4 separate regions of the Homo sapiens genome follow, and all the other regions are linked to region 1. The links are contacts of gene promoters, found by promoter capture Hi-C in human tissues and cell types (Jung and others, 2019). All regions are on one chromosome and are shown on one strand. Each heading gives the region's core, a stretch centred on a gene start or on the middle of the fragment in contact. The rest is flanking DNA. Distances are from core to core; before and after follow the strand shown. Region 1 holds the start of ELL2 (elongation factor for RNA polymerase II 2). Region 2 overlaps PCSK1 (proprotein convertase subtilisin/kexin type 1). Region 3 overlaps PCSK1 (proprotein convertase subtilisin/kexin type 1). Region 4 overlaps LOC101929710 (a long non-coding RNA gene).

Evidence for each region. The method cuts DNA at HindIII sites, captures the fragments that hold promoters and counts their contacts. A contact is called where the count stands out against the background at its distance.
Region 2: a fragment that was not itself captured here is called in contact with the fragment with the promoter of ELL2 in region 1 in 1 of the 25 tissues and cell types used here (dorsolateral prefrontal cortex).
Region 3: a contact is called between a fragment that was not itself captured here and the fragment with the promoter of ELL2 in region 1, in 1 of the 25 tissues and cell types used here (thymus).
Region 4: a contact is called between a fragment that was not itself captured here and the fragment with the promoter of ELL2 in region 1, in 3 of the 25 tissues and cell types used here (bladder, liver and spleen).

What each region holds. Positions count from the first base shown.
Region 1 is chr5:95,959,608-95,964,844 of GRCh38, reverse strand. It overlaps ELL2 (elongation factor for RNA polymerase II 2), which reads left to right and starts at 2,994. Exons shown (of 12, transcript NM_012081.6): 1 at 2,994-3,270. The coding sequence starts at 3,124. LOC101929710 (a long non-coding RNA gene) reads right to left here and starts at 2,844. Exons shown (of 5, transcript NR_130776.1): 1 at 2,809-2,844. It also overlaps a transcript of CAST not described here. RefSeq lists silencers at 2,438-2,905, 2,861-3,100, 3,171-3,580 and an enhancer at 2,385-3,142. The HindIII fragment of the contact is 6,597 bases long and covers 414-5,237 here.
Region 2 is chr5:96,410,760-96,415,996 of GRCh38, reverse strand. It overlaps PCSK1 (proprotein convertase subtilisin/kexin type 1), which reads left to right. Exons shown (of 14, transcript NM_000439.5): 7 at 3,507-3,679; 8 at 5,011-5,223. All of the region lies in intron 4 of LOC101929710 (a long non-coding RNA gene), which reads right to left. It also overlaps a transcript of CAST not described here. Among named protein-coding and RNA genes, the nearest start is that of PCSK1, 20 kb to the left of the region's middle. The HindIII fragment of the contact is 3,852 bases long and covers 466-4,317 here.
Region 3 is chr5:96,388,853-96,394,089 of GRCh38, reverse strand. PCSK1 (proprotein convertase subtilisin/kexin type 1) reads left to right here. Exons shown (of 14, transcript NM_000439.5): 14 at 712-3,757. The coding sequence ends at 1,089. All of the region lies in intron 4 of LOC101929710 (a long non-coding RNA gene), which reads right to left. It also overlaps a transcript of CAST not described here. Among named protein-coding and RNA genes, the nearest start is that of PCSK1, 42 kb to the left of the region's middle. The HindIII fragment of the contact is 5,490 bases long and covers 1-4,976 here.
Region 4 is chr5:96,367,378-96,372,614 of GRCh38, reverse strand. The region is part of intron 3 of LOC101929710 (a long non-coding RNA gene); the gene reads right to left. It also overlaps a transcript of CAST not described here. Among named protein-coding and RNA genes, the nearest start is that of PCSK1, 63 kb to the left of the region's middle. The HindIII fragment of the contact is 8,912 bases long and covers 1-5,237 here.

The DNA.
Region 1 (5,237 bases), core at 1,745-4,244:
CTTCTCAGTTATTAAATCTAATCCATAGCTACTCAGTGTATATAAGGACTGGAAGGACATTTAAAGAGCTGATTCCGACCCTGCCTCTCCTGGTTATGTTAGGCAGGTTGCTTTTAAATAAATGGGGGTCTCAGTTCCTCCTTCATAAAACTAATGTGTCCACCTGGAATCATCATGAAGATCATTTTTAGTTGGGCTGTCTCCATCTATACCACCTCCAACTTATCTAGAATCTACTCAACCCTCAAGAGCTGTTCAAGTTCTATCACCTCCATTAAACCTCTTCAGACTTCTCCTTTCTTTGAATTTTTGAGCTTATCACCAACACCGTCCAAATTAGCATTTACTAATTTTCTAATTGCTTTGCTTTGACTATACTGGTTCACTTGCCACACTGAAACAGAAAATTCCTCTAGAGACTTTACAGTTTAATTTTTAAATCCTCTACCGCATGTTATACTTAACTGGTATTCAATGATTATTTAATTATTTAAACCAGATAAAGATACAGAAAATATGTATAAAATGGCAACCTTCCCAAAAAGCACCTTTCATCAGCCTCCTCAAAATAAATTATCCTAACCAGCATCATAACTTGACCATCTGATTCAGGCAGGCGTAATGTGTACTATGCCTGTGAGACATCAATGAAAAGACACTGCTAGATTACCATATTACTTTGTACTTGATCATTTCCTCCTTCCACAGTTGAAAAGCTCAAAAGGGGAAAAATACAAACAACCATTAACTCACTACAATAATATATTAATCCGTGAAAGATTTGTTACCCACTAAAATAGGGCATGAGAAAAATTTTCCTATTATAATTTTTAAAAAAAGTCAATTACTAGTAAGAAGCTACAGGTCAGATATTTGAAAACTACAACGAAAACCATCCTTACTCCTCCCCCACCCGCTTGGATGTCATCAGAAATTCTGAGTAAGAGTAGGCCAAGTTAGGATATCATGTGGGTGGGGATTTACCCACATTCACCGGAAAAGCAGTGGGATACAGGTTTTACTTGTTCCGGTCAAACCTCCCTTCCCCCTCACCTCCCAAATAATTAAGGCTTTAGCTATGTGCTCAGTCCTTTACTATCAAAAAAAAAAAAAAAAAAAGAGAGAGAGAAAAGAAAAGTTCAAGTACAGAATTATTTTTAGATTATAGTCCGCTTAGAGATGAACTATTTGAATAAGGTTTCTACTTTTGGAAAGCGGAGAAAACTAGGTAGTAAAGCCTCTATTTCCCTTCTAAGAGTAAACTTTTTAATCCAATTTGATGATTACCTTAATATCTCTACTACATGAATTTAAGATAACACTGTATCACTAAAGTAAATGAAATTAGCAAGCGTTAATCACGTCTTAACAGCTAGCCAATCTTAGTGGATTGAAATTAAGTCAATTTACAAACTGTTTTCCTGTGATGGAGTAACACTTAATACAGGTGTTTCCACTTAATCCAATTCATTCTGTAATTCACATTATACACCTACTATGTTTGAAGGTCTGAATCAAAAAGGAGTGTACCCGTACGGTGGGGAAGGCATTTATTGGGAGGGGAGGACATGGAATCATGGCCCTAATCCATTTAAAATAATGAAAAATACTGATTAAATATCTATAAACTTTCCCGGGGAATCCCAGTAGAACAGAACATGGTTTTATAAGCTGAGGGTAAAAACAAGCGTCTCAGTTTTTTTATTAAAAGAACTTTTTTAAACTGCCTTTCAACAGTTTGAAAGCTTTCAATGGTTTGTTTTATCTGGTGTTTCTGATCAACCAATTAATCCATCCTCTGACAGGAACCCATCTGTCAGTCTATCCACACACAATCTGAAAGGGACTCCAGATTAGGCTCCCTCTTTTAGCCACGCCTACACAGGAAGCATCCTGTGGATGGAATGGAAAGTATGCCAGGCCTTTGCACGCCCCTCACGCCCCCATCTCCTTCGCTTAACCTCGACAGCCTCTTACCTTTAAACCCTAGCTAGGTTTTCACACAGCCCTATCAAATAAAAAGGACAATACTCAAACTGAATTAGAGAATGAGAATTGTCGAGGTTTCTTTTAATTTAGATCAATGCCAGTTTTACTCTTCTTCTAGAGTCCTTTTTAAGGAGATATCATCCCCACCAGTTGTGATCCCAGAGAATCACAACAGGGCATGGCGTAGGAAAGACCTCGAAGCTCAATTCTCTATTATACCATGCCCACCATACGAAAGGCATTTAACCTCCCGCGTGATTTTGTCCTTAAGATGCTCCACAAGATCTAACACAACTCCTACATCTAAGAGTCGACTCACTAATTTCAAGGGTTTTTGTTTTTGTTTTTGTTTTTATAAGCTCTGCGTGTGGCACCCGATAACTTCAAGTTTAGAGTGAGCAGTTTCCTCCCAATGCCGTTTGCTCAACTACAGTACTAGGAGTTTTGAGGAGCAGCTCTCTAGCGAGTCCTCCTGCTGCGTCCTCCCCCACACGCACGCACCAAGTTCCACAGCTTCCGCAGCCGTCGGGGAACAAAGTCCTTATTTGGTCACGGCCATCCCCTTACATAGTGGAGGTGGAGATCCTCCTCTCCAAGGACCACCCGCGTAGGGCGAGATTCCCCAATTCTGACTTTTCACTACTATCCCCCACAGGGGCGGGGCTCCAACTCCAGGTAACCAGACCAGGCAACCTGGACTTCCAATTAGCAGGGGAGTCCCCAAGCCAGCCTGGCCAATCTCGGCCGGCTAGCCAAGACGACCAGACGTGACGTCAGACATGATTAAGTTGGCGCGTCACCTAGACGTCAGCCTCTTACCTCTCGGACGTCCCGTCCCAGGAGCAAAACTCTAGTGACTTTGGGCCCGCCCCCGTGAGAGTGGAGGGCGGCCGATGAGGGCGGTTCTGAAGGGAACAAGACCAATGAGACGAGCCCGGGGCGGGGCGCGGGGCCGGAGGGTGGGGCGGGTGGCGGCGGTGGCAGTCCGAGGTCTGGCTCCGCGCAGTATATGACAGTACGTCAGCAGCGGGATGGCCCTAGCAGTGGCGGCGGCTGCAGAAGCCCAAGCAGCCGCGGCCGCAGTGGAGGCTAGAGCCGGAGCGGCGGCGGCGGCGGCACCCCGGGGAGTTTAAGATGGCGGCGGGGGGGACAGGGGGCCTGCGGGAGGAGCAGCGCTATGGGCTGTCGTGCGGACGGCTGGGGCAGGACAACATCACCGTACTGCATGTGAAGCTCACCGAGACGGCGATCCGGGCGCTCGAGACTTACCAGAGCCACAAGGTGAGCGGGCCGGCCGGCAGGCTGGGCTCAGAGAGGCAGAGCGCACCCCTCACGGCCTGGCCGCGCCCGGGTGCGGGGCCGGCGGAGCCGTGGCTGGCAGCTGCTACCGTCAGCGCCCGCAGCGGCCAGGCAGGGCAGGGCCGGGCAGGGTGGCTGACGCCGCGGTCCCGGGCTAGCCTGGGCGTTGGGGAAGCGGGCAGTCGGGCGGCCCCTGGCGGCGGGGCCGAGGCAGCCGCAGCCCTGGGTCGGCTGCGCTGCCGCTGCGGGACTTTCCGACGGCCCCCGAGGATTTCCTGGCTTGTTGGGTCCCAAGGAGGGAGAGAGGCCCCGATAAGAGAAGTGAGATGACCACGCTACCCTCGGCGGGGAAGGAGGGTAGCGAGCAGCGTATGGGCAAGGAACCAGGGACGACTCGCGGGCACCAGCTGCCCGCGTTTTCCAGTTACATAGGCACGGTGGATCCTCAGAGACAGGACACAGGCGCTCCGCGTGTGGGGGTGGGACCTTGTATTCCCAGGGACTTGGGGACACAGGCGCTCCACGTATCAGGGGACACACTGTGTGCTCGAAGGGATGGGGACTCGGGCGCATGGTGAGGGGCACACGGTGTACTCATAGAGATAGGGACTTAGGCAGTCCGTGTAAGGGGGCGGCGCACACTGGAACGGCGGGGACACTGGCGCTTCGCGTACGGGGGGGGAGGGGACACACCTGCATTCCCAGGGACTCCGGGACACCGGCGCATCGCGTTACTGGAGACGCGCCGCGTCCAGGACGGACACAAACCAACACAGTGCCCTGGGGAGAGACCTGAGGACTCACGCACACTTAGCGCTCCCCGGGAGCAAGACATCGGGTTCTGGAGAGAGAGGTTCACGGACGCTCAACGTACCCGAAAAAGCTCCCGGCGTCTTGGGCTGACTCTGGGAAGTGTAAACGGGGAACGAGCCAGAGCCAGAAGGTGTGGGGAGGATACAATGCATCCCGGGCAGAGACTCGGGCCTCTCACCCCTCGTTTTCGAGAGAAGCCCATGGACACACACACACACATATACACACACACCCCTCCAGTACAGAGAGAGGCTCAGATAGGCGCACATACACTGTAATTGGACTACAAATCCAGACGCTTTCATGTTGGAAAAAAAATGGGAGAGACAGGGAAGCACCGAGAAGGGACGCGGTAACCAGGGTGCATGGGGAAACAGTTTATGGACATGCAGTACTGTGGGAGACCGGAGTGGATACATCGCGTGAGGGAGGGATATGCCATATGGGGGAACCTGTAACGTTTTACAGGAGAGGAGAGAGTCGGAAGGGAGATAGAACCCACGGGGCATCTTACAAATAGCCCGTTCGGTACTGAGGAACACACTCCAACCGGTCTCGTACAACAGACAGAGGGGCAGAAGGACACCGAGACACAGATTCACATAGTTATTCAGCTAAAAGTGGGGAAAAGAATTGACATCTGTTGAGCTCCCACTAGTGCCAGGCACTTTAAATACATAGAGCGAAGGCAGAGTCTGAGGCAGAGCGGCAGGAGAGGTGTGAACCCTGGTTTACTGGGAGTGTATTCAGAGAGCCCCCCCACCCCATAAGTGTGCACACAGAGGAAGGCATTAGTTGTGCACGCTTTGGATAGAAAATGAACTCACATGATAGGGTATTTGTAAACAGCAGTGGAGGCTCAGAGGTGAGTGTATTGTTAGGAAGGTACTCACAGAATTGGGTGGACACATGAATGTACGTGCTAGGACACTTGTGTTACTAACCAGAGAAGCATATGGTGAAAAGGACTCACAGACTTTGTGTGGTGGGGTGAGGGGGCGTCAGGGAGGAGTGCATGCACAGGGAGAAAGGTACCGTCCTACATACAGTGAAATCTCGAGAGAAAATCTCAAGAATGGCTGGGAGAGATACAAGAAATAGAAAACTGCATGTGCCAATAGCTACTCTTAGATAGG
Region 2 (5,237 bases), core at 1,142-3,641, 450 kb before region 1:
AATGTGAAGCTTACATCACCCATTGTAAATGGGGGAGGGGAGCTTTTCTTTTTAACAACTGGAGGAACAAATTAGTTCCATGCCAAAGTTGCTACAGGACTTGAATATGATTTGCCAGCGAGTCAATAGATATGGATTCCTAGAAAATGGATAGTTGAATATAGCCTATACATCTTTGCAGGAAAAAAAAATGTGGAAATGTTGAATAGCATTTGAACCAAATCTAATTTTCTCTATGTTCTGATTTAGAATGGTTTGTTATTGAGTGCTTGCTAAGGAAACAGAAGGAGGAGGTAAATTTAGGCAAAGACTTTTCCTGCCTCTCAATTCTGTAGAAGTTCTTCACTTTATAGAGAAGAACAGCTTCAAAATTTAAAAAAAGTACATACTTATTATATTAAATAGCCAAATTTTATCTTTTATAGCAAGGATGTAGGATTTAATTGTTTTCATCAGTGTCCTTATGGGGAAACACATGGTAAGTTGCATTAGGGCAACTGTGGACATTTTAATAAAGAAACGATTTACAAGAATTAGAGAAAACCAACAAGGGGCTAAGAAGTGGTAGGCAGATGTTATCACCTTTAGCCTCAAGGAGCAAAGGGAAGAAGTCAGCAGAAAATAGAGAGGGAAAGCTGTGGTCACAGGAGAGAGCCACTGGATAGGCCTTGAGTACAACAACAGAGCCACTTCTAGGCAAAGGGGATTCAGGGGTATAGGCACCTCATTCTCCTCTTGATTCCCACCCTCTTGCTGGTGTCTTCAGTTGGCTGAACCCAATGGGAAGACAGAGCCCATTGATGCAGTCCATGTTCTAATGGAGAAGAGTGGAAAGTGTATCTGCAGGGGCCAAGAGAAAAGAAAAAACTGTCTCTCCTCTTTATGCTATCCCAACCTCAGGCTTTCATGTTATGTTATAAGCTTCAAGTTTAGTTTGGTTTTCAAAAACCATAATCACAAAAAGAATCAATTGTAGAACATTTCAATTACAATAAAACCCCATTAAACTCTACATGAGTATACCTTGCATTTGGTTATGCATTTCTTTTTAGAAACCAAATAAATATACATCGTGACATGTAATGCATCTTTCATGAATATAGGGCACTCTTAGAATTTTAAGTGTCATTCCTGATTCCTTTGATACTAACATCTTCAAAGTGTTCTGTTAATTTTTAAAAAAAATGAAGGGAGAAGCACAAATTATGTAATTAGCTAGTAAAAGAATTCACTCTTTTAGTCATAATGAACGAAACAGCTATAGTTTGTGAAAGAATCATCTGATCCCTTCATTTTGTAGAGAAAGAATCAGAAGCAAGCTGCTCAAGGTAATGAAAGCAAGTTTGTGGCAGTGTAGAACTGAAACACAAGATTCCAAGCCTACTGATGTTTTCCATTACTCCATCCTTTGATGGTCTGGCCCCAAATGCATTTTTTACCAATAATCTTCATTTATTAGGCACCTATTGTATGTCAGTTACTCTACAAATATTATAGGCAGTGTATCCTGGTGGTTAACAGATTTAGGGGCTAGATTTGTAGGGTTCAAATTCTGGCTCCCCAGTTTCAAGCTATGTGGCCTTGAGCAAGTCACTATCCCTTCCTGGCCTCAATCTCTCCATTTATAAAGTGAGGAGAATTACGGCACCCACCTCAAATGGTGGTTGTAAGGTTTAGATGAGTTTATACATGTAAAGCCTGTGGATTGGTGGCTGCATATAGACTATCATGAATGCACATGAGCTGTTATTATCATCCCTATTTTACAGTTGAAGAAACTGAGGCACAGAGGGTTAACTGGCTTGCCCAAGATTCCACAGCTGGTAAGAGCAGAACTGGGATTTTTTTTTTTTTTTTTTAGACAGAGTCTCACTCTGTCGCCCAGGCTGGAGTGCAGTGGCGCGATCTCGGCTCACTGCAAGCTCCGCCTCCCGGGTTCATGCCATTCTCCTGCCTCAGCCTCCTGAGTAGCTAGGACTACAGGAACCCGCCACTACGCCCGGCTAATTTTTTTTTTTTTTTTTTTTTTTTTTGTATTTTTAGTGGAGACAGGGTTTCATCATGTTAGCCAGGATGGTCTCGATCTCTTGACCTCGTGATCCGCCCGCCTCGGCCTCCCAAAGTGCTGGGATTACAGGCGTGAGCCACCGCACCTGGCCGATTTTTTTTCTAAATGCATTTTTTTTTTTTTTTTTTGAGACAGAGTCTTGCTCTGTTGCCCAGGCTGGAGTGCAGTGGTTGCAATCTTAGCTCACTGCAACCTCTGCCTCCCAGGTTCAAGCATTTCTTGTGCCTCAGCCTCCTGAGTAGCTGGGATTATAGGTGCGTGCCAGCATGCCTGACTAATTTTTGTATTTTTAGTAAAGATGGGGTTTCTCCATGTTGGCCAGGCTGGTCTTGAACTCCTGGCCTCAAGTGATCCACCCACCTCGGCCTCCCAAAGTGTTGGTATTAAAGGCATGAGCCACTGCGCCTGGCTCTAAATGCATTTTTGAACAATTTCTTTTTTACAAATACAACTTTCACTGATCATATCAATTTCATATCATTTTACCTTTGCTCCATAGTAAATAAGTGTGAAAATCTAAGGCTGTGCACTTTATTGTATTATGAGCCTGAAGCCAGAAATAACCAGGTAGCTGCCTGTAATCTGTCCAGATTGTTTTTGCCTTCCTGGCTCTTGAATTCATAAGTCTGATGACGGGTGACAGCCTGTTGGAAAGCACAAAGAGCTACCGCACCTACATTGTCCTGATGAAAAATGATTCCCCTTGGGGGTGAAATCCATGGCAATGATTTCATCCTTGAGATTATTTAGAAGAATAGGAAGCATGTTCCTTGAAAATGTTTCTTAGCAAACACATGAAAGGATGGCCTCTGGGTTATTTTTAATCAGGGCTTAGAAACAAAAGTGCTTTCCCTATTTGTTAGTTTCCTGTTGTGACTAGATCTTTTGAAGCTACATGTTTCCTGTCCAGAGTCCTTGTGTGGCGTAGACTGGGCCACAGCCATTTGTGGGACAGCCATGAGGAGGTGCATCACCAGAGGGCTGCTTGGAGGGTCTTTCTGAAAGCTGGTCTGTCATTTAGTTGGGGTGGGAGGGAGGGCAAACATTTTGTAATTGACAACAATCACGGCCACTTCCTCTCATCCAAGGATGCTGCTCCACTTCAGACTCAATGCCCAGAGCTTTTGCTGGGAAGAGAGCCTTGAGTGGGACCAAAAAAAAAAAAAAAAAAAAAAACATCACAGCTGCCTACACAGTGCATGGTATTGCATAGTATTATCTCTAAAGTGCGACAAAAAAGCTTATGGGGGCAGCAACATGTTCCTTCCTTCTGTGGTGTCAGTAGCTGGGTTACAGAAATTGGGGACATCTATCTAGTAGTTACCTGGTTTTTGACTCTTAAAATCCTTTAAAAATACAAATAGTAAGAGTATTGGGCTTTTGTCCATGTACATACTGACATCAACCTTTGTGTGTCTTTGTTTATTTTGTTTCTCAGGCATAAGAATGCTGGATGGCATTGTGACGGATGCTATTGAGGCCAGTTCAATTGGATTCAATCCTGGACACGTGGATATTTACAGTGCAAGCTGGGGCCCTAATGATGATGGGAAAACTGTGGAGGGGCCTGGCCGGCTAGCCCAGAAGGCTTTTGAATATGGTGTCAAACAGGTAAGATGCTTTACACAGACCCACATGAAATGAAACCTGACCATCTGGATATGAGGAGAAGGAAAGAACACTTAGGTTACATGGAATAACATTGTTGTGGATTTCTTAACAAAGTCCTTTACAATTTTAAATGCACTTAGAGGGCCAAATCATTCTTCAGAGGGATGGGAGTTAAGGCTTAAGAAAGTTTTCCCTATTTGTGGCCAGGCGCGATGGCCAAGGGAGGCAGATCAATTGAGGCCAGGAGTGGCCAATATGGAGAAACCCCACCTCTACTAAAAACACAAAAATTAGCCAGGTGTAACTAGGTTGCACTGTTCTGCAACCTAGTTTAGACAGTGAAACTGTGGTCTCAACTTAGATGCCTATAGTCCCAGCTACTCGGGAGGCTGAGGCACAAGAATTGCTTGAACCCAGAAGGCGGAGGTAGCAGTGAGCTGAGATTGCAGCATTGCACTCCAGCCTGGGTGACAGAGTGAGACCCTGCCTCAAAACTAAATATAAATAAATAAAATGAATTTTCCCTATTTGGGTCTGAGGTTGAATGGAAATTTATTACTTTTAGCATATTTATTTTAAAAGTGCTTCTGGACATTTCTTTCTCCTTACTCATTTTCCTGCTGCTTTTGGGTTTTTACACTAGTAAAAAACTACTCAGTCTTCTTCCAAGCGCGGAAATGCTTTTCAAATATAGAAACGTGTTGCCTTCTGCTCTGCACGTGCCTGTTGAATACCTGTGCCTTGGTTGGATTGCTCTGTCACTTGGGTTTACTGTATTCTTGCACAGATTCTAAAGCCTTGTGCTCCATAAGATGAAACAAAAGTAGAAACTCTGGAGAGCACAAATTGAAAAATCATAGAAAGGGCGGCTTTGACGAGTTCCATTCAATTGAAGAGTCCCTTTTAATGCAGCTGCAAGGCAGATCTGAATAATTCCTAATTTTGTCATTCTATCAGTCAGCCAGAAGATTGAAGCAGAAAGAAAGAGAGGAAGTTCAAAGATTTAAGTGCAGTGACATAAACTAAGAGAAGGGTGGAAAAATATGAGCAAGTGCAAAACGCTAGATTATGAATCTGCATAAGAAAGAAAAGCGTGTGCTCAGCCCTACCCCAGGAGGGCCCAGAGACTGGCAGGGCCAGAGTCCAGTGGCTTATAATACACAGCCTTGTGAGATTTCCAATATCGAAGCCAAAAGATCTGGAATTGAAAATAGATCCCAAATAGCTGTCTCTGAGAATTTCACACATGTAGTCGTTGGGGATTTTATTGGGATATAACAATGACCCCAATAGATGATAACAGATAATATGCATTCTGGCTTTTCCTTTAGGGGAGACAGGGGAAGGGGTCCATCTTCGTCTGGGCTTCGGGAAACGGGGGGCGTCAGGGAGATAATTGTGACTGTGATGGCTACACAGACAGCATCTACACCATCTCCATCAGCAGTGCCTCCCAGCAAGGCCTATCCCCCTGGTACGCTGAGAAGTGCTCCTCCACACTGGCCACCTCTTACAGCAGCGGAGATTACACCGACCAGAGAATCGTATGTTGCTTTTG
Region 3 (5,237 bases), core at 982-3,481, 430 kb before region 1:
TTACACATGAACTGTGAAGGCCTCAGCTTGAATTCTAGTTCCATTTATATTCTTCAAAGCAGCTTCCCTCCAGGACCTGAGTCCTGAGTACTTTTCTTCACAGTCTGGGAAGCAGGTTAACCTTGTCAGTGTTGGAATATTGAAACACTTCCACAGCAGTTGGCCAAGGTTGGCTTCTCTGAGCTCTCCAGCTCCCTCCTCCCCAGCCTAGCACCTCAGTCTCTCCCCTGACCACTTCTTACAGCTCAGTGGCTAAAAGGGTAGTTCTGAAAGCCAGTGCCTCCAGGAAGGCACACCCATGCTACCGCAACCAGTGGGTGCCTTCTATATGACTTGTTAGATATTTTGATATCCTCTGCTTCCCAAAATGGATTCCATGACAGCAGGCTGACAAGTAAAGAAAACCACCATGTACTGAGTACTTACCTATACAGTCTCATCTAGTCTTCAAAACCACCACAAATGGAGGTACTCTTATTCCACCTGACAGGTGAAGTTGAGGGAGATTAAAAAGGTTGTTAAAGGTACCCCAGAGGGTAGGCAAATGAGGGTTGAAGCCCAAGTCCATGTGGCTCCCAGTCTTGAACTCTCTCCCCTCCCCTCATTGCCTCTCAAGCGGCAGGCAGCGTTCCTGTGGTAGGGTTGCAACTAGCTTGCCTGGCCATAAATAATGAACCTTCTTCCCTTTGTGGATGGCATTCTATGTTTTAGGAGCAGCCCACACAAGAGAACCCTAAGGAGAACACCCTGGTGTCCAAAAGCCCCAGCAGCAGCAGCGTAGGGGGCCGGAGGGATGAGTTGGAGGAGGGAGCCCCTTCCCAGGCCATGCTGCGACTCCTGCAAAGTGCTTTCAGTAAAAACTCACCGCCAAAGCAATCACCAAAGAAGTCCCCAAGTGCAAAGCTCAACATCCCTTATGAAAACTTCTACGAAGCCCTGGAAAAGCTGAACAAACCTTCCCAGCTTAAAGACTCTGAAGACAGTCTGTATAATGACTATGTTGATGTTTTTTATAACACTAAACCTTACAAGCACAGAGACGACCGGCTGCTTCAAGCTCTGGTGGACATTCTGAATGAGGAAAATTAAAATAAGTGTGTGGTCCCAAGTTGGAAATATTCATGCTTCTTCCTTACCCTGCGATTTTGCCTGTGTCTGAAGTGGTTGTTTTGTCATGAATTCTTATGCTTATAATATCCTTTGTGGCACCTTTTCTTTTTCTCCCTAAACTGTACATGTGAAGGGGATGAGCTCAAGCAGGAAGTTCAACTTCCAGAATTGATCATAGGTATTTCAAAACACATCTTTCCTGTCTGCACAAGTGAAGTGTTTTGTTCTTTCTGGAGTCACAGTTGACAAAAAGCTCTTACACTACATTAGAACACTGCATTAGAGCCCATTTCAATTCTCAAAAGAAAAGGCAAAACCTGGGATATCAATTAATTTGAAAACATAATCTGCAAAGAATGAGAAGGAGTCAGAAACTGTTTCTGTAGCTTGTTCCCTGTCTTGTCCATGTGGTTCTTCAAATTTTGATGCCAAGAAAGTATTTGGTAGGCCTAATGAAGGAGTTCACTGTAAGACTCATTCCCTAGATCTTTCTATTCCAAAGTGCCACTCATTCCTGTAGTCAAAATCTGGTCATGTTGGTCAAAAGCTGGATTATTTAGATCTAGAAACAGATCTTGAAATCTGAATGCTCTGGTTTGAGCAATTTTCGAACATTCTTTGCCTGGTGCACTGTGTCTGTGGTGCCAGAGGCGTCCGTGGATCCAGAGGTGGTTATGACTCGTGCTGCATGCCTGGTCTTTCCTCTGTTTCTCCTTCTGAAAGTTTTCTATACCTGTCTCCTTTCTCAGCCACAAAATAAATGTTGGGAGAAATGATATATACCACTTTCCCAGAAAAAAAAAAACTTACACTTGGGACTTGGCAAATTCCTAGTCACAATTTTTTTCAGCAGTAACAGGAAACCACTTATCACATGGAGACCTAATGTAATAATAGAAAAATACTCATAATAGGGAGAAACCAAGAGAAGTTTTGTTTTTGTTTTTTTCCAACTGTGTTCATTAGAACAGCGTGTTCTAAGTATTTGAAACTGAATGTTTATTCCTTGATACTAAAAGTTCTTCTCCAATCCTATCACTGATAGTGTCCAAATTCTCACCAAATTGCTCCTAAGCTTCAAATCAGAAGCAGAAACTGGCAGGCCATGGACCTTAATTGTCCCTCAGGTAGATTTTGTTTGGTATGCAGAATGTTTTTAAAATATGAGTGGTTATTGAAAATATGATGTTTCACATAAAACCTCATTCTCGGACCCATCTTTGCTCATGGCAACAGTTAGCTGGAGCTGAGTAGCAGCTGCCTGATTAGATGACTCTCAGTCCCCATGGCACCCTGCTCCATGTTACCTAGAGCAGGCACTTGATTCCTTGCTGGGCAGTATCCAATAGGCATTTGATTTTGCCCACTCCTACACTAAGCGAATGTGTACAAAGTGTAAATGCATTAGGAAAAACAAACTACCCGCATCTTCTGTTAGGCAGGATCTGTACAATAATAATTATGAGTTTGCTTATGTAATCTCACCTCACCTGGATGATCACTAATACTAATTCATTTATTACTAACCTTCTGGCTTCCTTCTCTCAATATGCTTACAAAGTCTCCAGTCACCTACAATGCTGGCTTTCTCCCACTGAGTTTGCTGTTTGCAATTTTTCCATGAAGTTTGAACTTCATAAGGTAATTCATGGCATTGAACTGGTTCATGAAAAGAACACTAGAGTCTGTCATTTGCTTTGGCTTGAAGTATGGTTGGTAACACAAATTTTCACCTGCTCTTCTACCATTTGAATTTGTGTAGAGGGTGTTTGCAGAGCAATGCCCGTAATGCTTAGAGAATGTTCTCCTAAAAGACTTGCGGAATCACTCTGTCCTTGGAAGTTTCATATATTGTTTGATATGAAGTGTTAGATAGAATTTCCAATATTGGAGCATATCAAAAAGTATTAAAACTAAAAAGGACCAGAGAATTCTTAGATTGGCCCGGAAAGGCCAATAAAGAGTTAGAATGAAAACTCATTACTTTTCCATTCCCAATCTAGTGCTAGATGTATAAATCTTTCTTTTGATTCTTCCTAACAAAATATTTTCTGGGTTAAAACCCCAGCCAACTCATTGGGTTGTAGCCAAAGGTTCACTCTCAAGAAGCTTTAATATTTAAATAAAATCATATTGAATGTTTCCAACCTGGAGTATAATATTCAGATATAAAACAGTTTTGTCAGTCTTTCTTAGTGCCTGTGTGGATTTTTGTGAAAATGTCAAAGAGAAAACTTATATACTATTTCCCTTGAAATTTTAAACTATATTTTCTTTACAGGTATTTATAATATACCAATGCTTTTATCAAACAGAATTTTAAAGAGCATAATAAATTATATTAAAGAACCAAAAGTTTTCCTGAGAATAAGAAAGTTTCACCCAATAAAATATTTTTGAAAGGCATGTTCCTCTGTCAATGAAAAAAAGTACATGTATGTGTTGTGATATTAAAAGTGACATTTGTCTAATAGCCTAATACAACATGTAGCTGAGTTTAACATGTGTGGTCTTGGTATTCTTAAGGGAACTTCCACATTATACATTTGATGTATTGACCAGAATATGTAAAATATGCTTATAAATCAGAAAAATAAATTGTTTCTCACTAAGTCAAAAGAAAAAAAGCTCATGTTTCCACCACAAACAAGATCTCCCTCTTTTATTGTGTTTCCCAAATGGACTATACAAAAGAAAAGCTGACAGTTTACATTAAGGAGTTAATTCCTTTTTAGGAAATTGGGCTTTCTTGGAGTCAATTTAAGAATCTACCTGAACAAGGTATGTTTTATTTTCCTCTCTAGCCCATCCTTCACTTTCTTGACAACATGCAAAGCTGTATGACTGAGCCTTAACTGAAATGTTGAGAAATGAACAAACTATCTAAACTAAACTAAACAGACTTACTACATGTAAGAGAAATGATTCCCAACATTTCACCAAATAGGACTTAGTTTACAGGCTAGAGTAAAGCAGCTAAGTGTGAAATCCTTCCCAGAGGTTCTCTCATTAGAACCCTCAAAGTTCCAACTTTTTTTTTTTCTTTTGCTAGAGTCTCACTCTTTTGCCCGGACTACAGTGCAATGGCATGATCATGGCTCACTGCAGCCTCCACATCCCAGGCTCAAACGATCTTCCCACCTCAGCCTCCCTTGTAGCTGGGACTACAGGTGTGCACCGCCACACCCAGCTAATTTTTGTGTTTTTTGTAGGGACAGGTTTCGTCATGTTGCCCAGGCTGGTCTCAAACTTTTGGGCTCAGGTGATCCACCTGCCCCAGCCTCCCAAAGTGCTGGGATTACAGGCATCAGCTACTGTGCCAGGCCCCAATTCCCAACTTTGATTTCTGAACTTCAGGCCCACTTCTCTCTCTTGCTTCAAACTTCCATTCCTGGAATTTCGACCCACCATCTCAGAATCTGACCTTTCTCCCCTTGGGAACTGGTTTTTCCCCAGAATCCATTCATTTCTCCTAAGTCATAATCATTCAGTAAAACTAGAATGATCTTTCAGAAATTCCAGAAGGACTTCTTTCCATCAGGATTAGTTGAAGATATATCTCTATTTTCATTTCATTGATTAATCGATTAATTGATTGATTGTACATATTTAAGGTGTACAATGTGATATTGTGATATATAAATACATAGTGAAAAGATGATTACAGTCAAGCAAATTAACATATCCATTCTCTCAGTTACCTTTTTTCTTTTGTGGTAAAAGCACCTAAATGCTAAGAAAACTCTTTAAGCAAATTTCCAGTATGTAATACATTTTTATTAACTATAGTCCTCATGCTGTACATCACATCTCTAGACTTTTATCCTACATAACTACAACATTATACTATTTGACCTATATCTCCCCATTTCCCCCCACCTCTCCCACCCCACTGCAAAAACCATTCTACTCTACATTTCCATCTATTTGACTTTTTAAAAATTCCACATATAAGTGACATTATGCAGCATTTTTCTTTCTGTGTCTGGCTTATTTCTCTTAGCATAATATACTCTAGGTTCATTCATTTATTGCAAGTGGCAAGAGCTCCTTTTAAAGGCTGAATTTCATATGTGTGTGTGTATATATATGTATATATATATACAGAAATAGTTTGTGTGTGTTTG
Region 4 (5,237 bases), core at 1-2,500, 410 kb before region 1:
TGGCTATTCCTCAACTCTGGGATCAGGCTTGCTTGTTCTCTGCCTAAGTCCCATGGTATTACATTTATGACCAATGCAGCAGTCCCTGGTGGGTCTGGCCTCCCTAGAAATATTCAGCTCTTTCCCTGGGCCAATGGGTTCCAAATTTCCAAAGTCCTCCTCCTGCAGGTTCTCATGTCTTCCGAGGGCAACCACCATGATGATATCCATTGGCTAGAAGAGCCACCCCTGGCCAAGGTCTGGCAAAATACTGAAGGTCATGGGTATAACTTATATGTAATCAGATTCATGGGCAAAAGAAAAACAAATAAAGGACTGAAGAACAGAGTTCTCAGGAATTTTTTCCAAAATGGAATTTAAAAGGGTGAGGTATATAGCAAGGAACACTGAAGGAGCCACCTGATATTTAACAAACTGTGTTGTAGCAGCCCATAAACCTGGGTTCCAATCCTAGCCATTCTATTTACTACCTGTGAGAACTTACTTAAACTCTGAGAGCTTCAATTTTTCCCATTTCCAAAATTGGGGTGAACGTTGCTTCATGTAATTTACAGGAGAAAACAAATGCACAGCATTTCTGCACAATATTGGTACTTAATAAATGTTAGTTTAAAAAAACAAAGTTAATCAAGGGCAAATTATTGGAAGGAAAAATCAGAAAGTGAGCTAGAGGAGTTTATATGAATGATAACAAAGGCAGCCTGGTATACTGCCTTAGTATTAGAATATAATGTACTTTTAGCTCTGTAATGGTCATAAATCCTGCTGTGTTTAAGGTTTTTTTCTTCTGTTTGTCTTTGGATTTTTAATCCCATTTTCAGCCTGTAAATCTGGAGTGCTTTTAAAGACCAGTATAGACTGGTTGTCTAGGCTCATGATCAAAATTCCTTTTTCATACTTTCAACCAATGGGTATTTATTGAACACCTACTATGTGCCAGATGGTATGATAGGTAACAAGAACCCAACACCCAGAATGGTTCCTTCTTTCCTGTGATTTACAGTCCAGTGAGTGAAAGAGACAGAGAGCCTCCTAATAGAAGATAATGAAAGGAAAGTTTAATTTTGCACCTTGAGCGTTCAAAATACTTCATCTCCATGTCAGTGACAATAAATGTTTCTGGAAGAAGAAAGGAAGAAAGGTAGAGAGGGCAGGAAGTGTGCTATCAGAAAATAAATGTGAATATGCTAAGCCTCTGCCCCATTCCTCATCAACAGTTGACAGCGATTCAAGTAGAGGTCTCCTCCCCCATGGGCTATCACAGGATTAGTACAGCATCTACATGAGGTGGGGAGCTTATTGACTAGCCCTGTTAATGATGACCTTTCTGGAAACTTTTCCAGAACTTGAGTTTTTTAATGCTTTGGCACAATAATGCTTTATCAGCCTTCCTACATAATGAGCTATGGAAATGAGCCAACCATAGAAAAGTGACTCCATTTACTTAGTTCCATGCTACAGATGGCCTAGTGAACACTATGAGCTAATGGAAAACTAACAAATGCTGGTCCAGGTCAACAGCTGTTTCCTTTGTAACTGGGGTCTGCAAGACACAGGTGTATTTCATGGGCCCTTATGTAGACTACCATCTGCTAACGGATGTTCTTCATTTCCTTTAAATGTAAAGATAGGTACCCGGAATTGGAAGTGTGAATGAGTGTATTGTGGACATTAACTTGGCTTCATTTAGGTCTACATAGTTGGGGAGCTCTCCAATTTGAGTTATATCATAAACAGGTGAATCCCTAAGACAGCACCTCAAGTTTACTCACAGTTTCTCTACGGGCAAAATAGGAATTAGATGTGCTTTCTTCTATTGTTTTGCTTGTGGATTTGCTTTACATGTTTTCTCATAATTCCACCACATCAGGTCTCTCTGAAGCAACAGTTGCACAGTGTAGTCCAAGCAGGCAGGCTAGGCACTTACAATCCAAACTCTTCCTATCCCTACCGTGAATATGAAGAGAGCTGGAATAAAGCAACAGTACTGTTGACTTCCAGGCCTACCCCTTACTGTGAATCAGTGCTGCTATGCCTGTGAATTTCAGTTTTCTGTGTATACAGGTTGGATGCAGTTGTGGGGGGTGAAAATTAAAGAACCAGTCTGGCCCTGAAGGGGTGTTTGGCAGCTCCATGTTGCTCTTTAGTTTATGAGGTTCCATATTGCATATTGTCCTCAGTTTGGGACGCTTAAAGTTTCAAGAAAGTAAGAACAATTTCATTCACTACCCTGTTACAGCTGCTTGCTTCTTTTTTGTCTCTCTTACTCCTAGAAATACCCAGAAGTCTATTACAGTCGCTGTTTCATCCCCAGAATCTCTAACAGTGCCTGGTACATACAAAATTCTGGTCCTGGTTCTACTACAGTACTGCCTAATATTGTGTAATCTTAGGCAAGTCAGCAAGACATTTAACTTCTCTGAGTTTGTATTTCTCCATTTACTATTTTTTAAATTAATTATATATAATAAACTATAAAATATATTAATACCTCCTATAATGAGTTTCATATCACAAGGAAAATGGTGATAATCCTTAGCCATTCAGATCCTCTTTTATTCAGTTTGAAATGTAAGAGATTTCCATTTTGAAGTTCAAAACCAGATGAATAGCAGAAATTTCATATTATTTAACCTAAGTCATGACATACATTTTTATTGAGCAGCTACTATGTGCAAAGCATAGCTGTCAGACATTGGGGATACAACAGTGAAGAAAAATAAAACTTGTTATTATTGACTTTACATTCTAATTGAAGACAAAAATAGACTAAGAGATGAAAATATAGTGGGTCATGCAGTGAAGAGAGCTTAGAAGGAAAATAAAACGGAATAAAGAGACAAAGAGTCACTTGAGGGGAGGAGTGGCATACTAAAACAAGGAGAATTGAGTAAAATGTACCTACTGAATGTTGAGACTCTCAGCCACATTTCCTTACTTGGATTTCAGATTTTTGGCAGCTGTGTAATTAAATATCAGAAAGGAGATTAAAAGGTCTTCTCATATTCTTCTACGATCATCTTCCCAAGAGAAAAGATCTAAAGGAATTACCTTTGGCTTTCATTTAACAAAACAACCAGCCAGATCACGTCAGAGTGAATTTTTGCCACACAGCTTCTGAGAAAGCTTTTTGGTCCTCCATAGTTAAATACCAAGAGGCAGCTAAGGGCTGCCAGACCTTCTTCTAAACTTCAGCCATGAATCTGAAGGTTAGAAGACAAAGCCAACAAGCAAAAACAGTAACTTAGAAGAAACAAAGATTTCACAAGGAGAAGAAAACTTCAAAAATGTTTGATATTTTCAGAGACAGAAGAGAAGAAATACTTATAGATATTAAAAAGCTAATTTGGAGAATAAAAAATGAAAAACTCATAAAGAGATTTATGTAATAATCCATCAAGAACTAAGTAAAATTTATTTAAAAGAAAATTAAATAAATATACGAGAAATCAGAAATAGAAAAAATATATAAAATATATAGATAAAAACGCAATATAAGGTCAACATCCAAATAGTAAAAGTCCAAAAAAGAGATATAGAATATTGAGGGTGCATGGATGAAATAATCATTAAATAATTGAAGCGATTATTGAGAAATCATTGTAAAGTTTCAGAATTCTAACCACAAAGAAAAGATCACTTTCAAATGGGTGAGAAAACAGGTTTCATGCAACAGCAATACCAAGCTTTAGGAACAAAATGGAGTAACACTTTCTAAATACTAAGAGAAATTCTTTCCAGGTTTAAATTTCTTACCTAGCCAATTAAGGGTGTGGGTAGAAGGAAATTATTTTTAGACAAGCAAGATTTCAAAAACATTACTTTGCAAAACTTTTCAGAAAAGTAATAGAATAGATATTCTCTCAATATGAAGGAGCAATTCAAGAAAACATAGGATCCAAGGAACAGGAGCTTGTTAAGAGAGAAAACAAGAATCCCAGAGAGATAGTGGACAGAAATACCAAGCTCACAGCTCTGCAGCAGGCTGAGAGATCAGCCACTTCCTACTGGAGCGAATCAGAAGGCTCCAAGAGGAAGAACTGAATGTGTCTGAGATTTACACATGTGGAGTTTGAGAATAATTCTATAGGTTTTTTTGTTTTTTTTTTTTTTTAGATGGAGTTTCACTCTTGTTGCCCCAGGCTAGAGTGTAATGGTGCAATTTTGGCTCACTGCAACCTCCAACTCCTGGGTTCAAAGGATTCTCCTGCCTCAGCCTCCTGAGTAGTTGGGATTACAGGCATGTGTCACCATGCCCGGCTAATTTTTGTATTTTTAGTAGAGACGGGGTTTCACCATGTTGGCCAGGCTGGTCTCGAACTCCTGACCTAAGGTGATCCACCCGCATTGGCCACCCAAAGTGCTGGTATTACAGGAGTGAGCTATCGTGCCCAGCCAATTCTATAGAAATTCAAACAATTTTTAAAAATTGGTAATTAGTAACTCCAAGGAAAAGCAGAAAGGAAAGGGAAGGGAAGGAAAGGAAAGGGGAAAAAAAAGAAAAGTAATTAAAGGATACTATAAGGTTCAGTTATGAATACATTTGCATAATTAGACTATGAAAATGTTGGATACTTATATAATCAAATTATGTAAGTGGGTGAGAAGGACAATGAGGAACATGTTATAAAAGCGTACTAGAGGGGGCGATTTCAAGATGGCTGAATAGGAAGAGCCCCACTCTACAGCTCTCAGCATGAGCGATGCAGAAGACGGGTGATTTCTGCATTTCTAACTGAGGTACTGGGTTCATCTCACTGGGGCTTTTCCGACAGTGGGTGCAGGATAGAGGGTGCAGCCCACCGAGCGTGAGCCAAAGCAGGGCGAGGCATCACCTCACCCGGGAAGCACAAGGGGTGAGGGAATTCCCTTTCCTAGCCAAGGGAAGCTGTGACAAATGGCACCTGGAAAATTGGGTCACTCCCACCCTAATACTGTGCTTTTCCAATGGTCTTAGCAAACGACACATCAGGAGATTATATCCCGCGCCTGGCACGGAGGGTCCCACACCCACAGAGCCTAGCTCATTGCCAGCACAGCAGTCTGAGATCGAACTGCAAGGTGGCAGCAAGTCTGGGGGAGGGGCGCCTACCATTGCTGAGGCTTGAGTAGGTAAACAAAGCAGCCCAGAAGCTCGAACTGGGTGGAACCCGCTGCAGCTCAAGGAGGACTCCCTGCCTCTGTAGACTCCACCTCTGGTGGCAGGGCATAGCCAAAGAAAAGGCAGCAGAAACCTC